2 separate regions of the Homo sapiens genome follow, and region 1 is linked to region 2. Evidence: promoter capture Hi-C in 16 types of primary human blood cells and fetal thymus (Javierre and others, 2016). All regions are on one chromosome and are shown on one strand. Each heading gives the region's core, a stretch centred on a gene start or on the middle of the fragment in contact. The rest is flanking DNA. Distances are from core to core; before and after follow the strand shown. Region 1 has its middle 22 kb from the start of EN1. Region 2 holds the start of C1QL2 (complement C1q like 2).

Region 1 (2,700 bases), core at 104-2,603, 290 kb after region 2:
GGGAGACATGACCAGGAAGGGCATGAGAGAGCTTTCTGGAGGCTGGAAATGTTAAATATGCAGATCTAGGTGGCAATAATACAGGTGTACATATACGGAAAAGTTTCATAAGCTGGACACTTCAGATCTGTAAAATTTTATTGAATGTAAGTTTTACCTCAATAAGAAAATGATCTAAGACATATCTGTAAGATTAAGTCCGTATTCATTTCAATTCCTTGAATTTAGATTTGACGGACATATAGACAAGGTGAGTTGGGGTTTCTATCTGCTCTCTATGAAAACAAGGAAATTAGTAGCATATACAATGGCCATGCTGAGCCTCCTTATGAGTGAAGAGTTGTTGGAGAATTGTCTTGACAGTTTGGAAAATTACAATCTGTGCAATCACATGTATTTCACATTGAATGTGCTAATTATAAGCATTTCTTATCTGTTCACCAGGTCAGATTTCCCAGCCACTGCCACCAGGGCCCCTGGAGTCTCAAGAAGACTTAATTGCCATCTCCCAGTGTCCTTGACTGAGGACCTGTTTAAAAGTGCTTTAGCAAATGTTTGAGCTGCAGGAGGAGTGCCGAGCTGTTCATTTTGCAGTGCTCAGAGGGTGAGGACCCCTTCTGCTGCTGTCCTGTTACCCTGGTTCACTGGTGGATGTGCAAGCTTGCTGTAGCCAGAAGCCCTCGTTACATTATGGTCTTCATGTTTAGGAAAAGCATTATTGAAAGCAGAAGATTGTGAGCCCCAGCTCCCCTAGAGCCTGGAAAGGAAGGGGAATTCAGAGTCACAGTCTCACTAAATTGAAGCTGGGGGCTAGGCCAAGCACATTTCCTGCATTATATAATGTAATCCTCTCAGTGACATGGCAGATGGCACTCCAGACCAACATGGGAGGAGGCAACAGGGATGGGACTACTGGGCATCCACGTAGAAAAACATAACATCGAATCCCTTCCTCCTCCATATATTCTGTACTTTTCAGTAAATCTCAGGTACACGGAGGATTTACAGGTGAAAGGCAAGACTTCAAAACTGTTCAAAGAAAATATAGAAGAGTATCTTTCTGACTTTGAGTTTGAGATGATTTCTTAAACACAAGAGAGAAAAAGCACTAACTACAATAAGGAAACATTAATAAACCAGACGACATTAAAATTAACTCTGTTCATCAAAAGACACCAAAAGAAAAGTGAAAGGCAGGCCATAGACCAGGAGAAAATATACGCAACATCTGTAGCTGGTAGATTACTATCCAGAATACATAAAGAACTCCTGCCAATGCATTAGAAAAAAGGACAGCCCAGCAGAAAATGAGCAAAAGCTGCAAATAGGCATTTCTCAGAAGAAGGAAGTAAAAAATAACCCAGTGAGACACAATTGTAGTAAAAACGCTAAGTTCTGGGCAAGACATGGACTTCAATGTTAATCCATTTCTGCTGTTTCTGATGAATGTGTATTTGATGCAATACAACTTGATGCTTTCCACCACAATGTGATGGAAATTTGTGACCTAGCACTTTGACTTCATTTATATACATGAGAGCAGGGGTTTGCAAACTGAGGCCTGTGGACTTTGTTTTTGCTAAATAAAGTTTTATTGGAAGTCAGCCACACTTACTTGTTAAGATATGGCTGCTCTTGTAACACACAACAGCAGAGTTGAGTAGTCGCAACAGACACCTTAAGGCTTCAAAGCCTACAATATTTACTAGCTGATATTTTGCAAACAAAGTTTGCCAACCCTGATCTAGAGACAGTTTTAAGGTATCATTTTCTTTTTACCTATAACTTTCTAGAACCCATACCATTTTAACAGGCTTTATTTTTAGAACAGTTTTAAACTCATAGGGAAATTGAGAAGACAGTAGAGAATTCCCATAGACTCTCTCACCCAGTTTTCTCTGTCATTGACCTTAGCATGGTACCCTTGTTACATATTGCTACATGATTAACTAAAGTCCATAGTTCATTCACATTTTCTTAGCTTTTATCTAAAGTCTTCTGCTCCAAGATCCCATCCATTTACTTGACATATTTCCTTAAGCTTCTCTTGGCTGTGAGAGTTTCTCAAACTTCCCCTGTTTCTGATGACCCTGACAGTTGAGCAGTACTGGTCAGGTGTTTTGTAGAATGTCTCTCTGTGGAATCTATTTGATGTGTTTCTCATGATTAGACTGGGGTTATGGACTTTGGGGAGGAAGACCACTGAGGTAAAATGCCATTTTTATCATTATATGAAAGACATGTACTAACATGATTTATCACTGTTGCTACTGACCTTGATCACCCAGCTGAGGTAGTATGTGTCAGATTTTGACACTGTAAAGTGACTCTTTCCCCTATACTCCGTGGAGGGAACAAACGCATCATGCACAGCCCAGCCCACACTTAGTGGGTAGGGATGTATCCTCTTCCTTGAGGCTGAAATATATAACATATGTTATATATAATGTTACATATTATATATGTTATATATAATGTTACATATTATATATGTTATATATAATGTTACATATTATATATGTTATATGTTATATATAATATATGTTATATGTTATATATAATATATGTTATATGTTATATATTATATATGCTATATGTTATATATTATATATGTTATATATTATATTATATATAATATATGTTATATATTATATTATATATAATATATGTTATATATTATATTATATATAATATATGTTA
Region 2 (2,700 bases), core at 12-2,511:
TATTCTGCTCTCATCTGAGGCCATGGTTTATTCAAGACTGGCTCAGAATGGCTTTGGACTATTTGGACTATTTTCTAAAATAACTAAACCCATCTCAGGAGGAGGAAGCTGGGGATGTCCAAGGGAATGTGCCCATGCATCTGCCTGGCAGTGGCCGGGCTTGGAGTAGAAGCTGAGTGCACCATGATCACTGCCAAGTGCCGGCATCAAGCATTTGGTTTCTACACCAGCTTCACGCAGAGGACAAGGGCCAGCCATTTTCTGGTGGAAGAAAAGGTCTGAGGCGAATATTCCTTTTTTTTTTTTTTTTTTTTGAGATGGACTTTTGCTTTTGTTGCCCAGGCTGGAGTGCAATGGCACGATCCCGCCTCACCGCAACCTCTGCCTCTCTGGTTCAAGCGACTCTCCTGCCTCAGCCTTCCGCGTAGCTGGGATTACGGGCATGCACCACCATGCCCAGTTAATTTTGTGTTTTTAGTACAGACGGGGTTTCATCATGTTGGTCAGGCTGGTCTCAAACTCCCAACCTCAGGTGATCTGCCCGCTTCGGCCTCCCAAAGTGTTGGGATCACAGGCGTGAGCCACTGCGCCCGGCCGCAAATATTCTTGTATTGGGAGCCTTGGGCTTTTTAGAGTCACCTCAGAGGTTAGTGGGGTGCTCTACGGGAGCCTGTTTAAGAGTCTGGAGTCCTTAGTCTAGGTTTGCGAAAGATCTTCCAGAAGCGAGATCTATTCAATTCTGAAGAAATAACTCAGGAGGTCTTTCAGAAACTCCTTCCCGCTGGACCTCACGGGACTCTCCTGGACTCGGTGGGTTGAGGTTTGATCCTCTTTGCAGGCCAGGGGATGGATTAGGTGACCCCAGAGGAGCCCTGCTGACACCTGGATTCCAGCTGCTTTCGTGGCCATGTGGGGGTGGCTGTGCGTGCCCCGCCACTGCGTGCGTGGGTGTCTGTGTGTGTTATCGGTGGGGGGCGCGTGAGTGTGGCCGCGGGTGGGTGTGTCCGATGTGCCCCGGCTTGGGACCGCGCCCGCTGCGCCCACTTGTGGCTCCTGGGAGCCGCCAGGGGGAACCGCGCCTTCACCGCCTCTGCCGAGGACGCCGCCAGATAGGAGGCTGATGACATGAGGGCTCCGTCTCCCGAGTGATGGCAGCGCGCGCTGCTTCGCCGCCTCCGCCGCTCAGCCCCGGACTCCTTACGTCAGGGTAGCGGGGTCCCCCCTCCGCGCGGGAGCCAGCGAACAGCGAGAGAGCACAGCAGAGCGCGCCGCGGAGCCGGGGCGCCCTCACTGCGCTAGGAGCCCCACTAAACCCAGCGGAGCGGAGCCTGGCGGGAGGCAGCGCCGCGGAGCCAGCGCCGGACGCCGCAAGCAGACTCCCCGGCCAGCGCAAGCACTCCCTGGCCGGCGCCGGACCCTCGGGGCGCCGGATTCGTCTTGTGTGCCCCACGTCATGCGCGCGGGCGTCCGCGGCTCTCCCGACCAGCCCCAGCGCGGTGGGCCCAGGCTCAGAGGTCCCGGCGCCTCTCGCTGAAGTAGTTGGGTAGCCGGGGCTGGGGGTCGCCACGTCGGGGGCGCGGCCAGGACCCGCGGAGCCGGTCCCCGAGCGCGGGGAGCGGGGCCGCCCGCGCCGCCCCACCATTACCTCCCCGGGCGGCAAGGAGGAGCTGGTGGCGGTCGCCTCCCGGCTGTGGCAGCGGCGGCGGCGTGCCTGCCTGGCGGCCGTCGGCGTACTCTTGGCCATGGCGCTCGGGCTGCTCATCGCCGTGCCGCTGCTGCTGCAGGCGGCGCCCCGAGGCGCCGCGCACTATGAGATGATGGGCACCTGCCGCATGATCTGCGACCCTTACACTGCCGCGCCCGGCGGGGAGCCCCCGGGTGCAAAGGCGCAGCCACCCGGACCCAGCACCGCCGCCCTGGAAGTCATGCAGGACCTCAGCGCCAACCCTCCTCCTCCTTTCATCCAGGGACCCAAGGGCGACCCGGGGCGACCGGGCAAGCCAGGGCCGCGGGGGCCCCCTGGAGAGCCGGGCCCGCCTGGACCCAGGGGCCCTCCGGGAGAGAAGGGCGACTCGGGGCGGCCCGGGCTGCCAGGGCTGCAACTGACGGCGGGCACGGCCAGCGGCGTCGGGGTGGTGGGCGGCGGGGCCGGGGTAGGTGGCGATTCCGAGGGTGAAGTGACCAGTGCGCTGAGCGCCACCTTCAGCGGCCCCAAGATCGCCTTCTATGTGGGTCTCAAGAGCCCCCACGAAGGCTATGAGGTGCTGAAGTTCGATGACGTGGTCACCAACCTCGGCAATCACTATGACCCCACCACGGGCAAGTTCAGCTGCCAGGTACGCGGCATCTACTTCTTCACCTACCACATCCTCATGCGCGGCGGCGACGGCACCAGCATGTGGGCGGACCTCTGCAAGAACGGGCAGGTCAGTGACCCCTACACTCACCGGCCCCCGTAAACCCTCGCCCGCGCCCTGAACCTCCCAGGGAACCAGCCTCCTTTCTCTCCACCCGCGGGCTACCCTGCGAGCCCCGGGAATGAACGCGCCTCGGTGCCACAGTATCTCCGCTTCCCGATGCGCCGAGGCCGCGCTCACCGGGACGTAGAGCCAAATGTTGGGCCTTGAGAGCCCAGAGACCCCCATACCTAAACTACACTCCTTGGCCACTTGCGTCCCTGCCTGCCTCTCCGTGGGCTTC

What was found. The method cuts DNA at HindIII sites, captures the fragments that hold promoters and counts their contacts. A CHiCAGO score of 5 or more calls a contact.
Region 1: a fragment that was not itself captured here is called in contact with the fragment with the promoter of C1QL2 in region 2 in 4 of 17 cell types (monocytes, M2 macrophages, M0 macrophages and 1 more); the score reaches 8.2 in monocytes.

What each region holds. Positions count from the first base shown.
Region 1 is chr2:118,867,944-118,870,643 of GRCh38, reverse strand. No RefSeq gene overlaps it. Among named protein-coding and RNA genes, the nearest start is that of EN1, 22 kb to the right of the region's middle. The HindIII fragment of the contact is 1,381 bases long and covers 663-2,043 here.
Region 2 is chr2:119,157,312-119,160,011 of GRCh38, reverse strand. It overlaps C1QL2 (complement C1q like 2), which reads left to right and starts at 1,261. Exons shown (of 2, transcript NM_182528.4): 1 at 1,261-2,426. The coding sequence starts at 1,743. RefSeq lists an enhancer at 2,083-2,700. The HindIII fragment of the contact is 3,837 bases long and covers 1-2,700 here.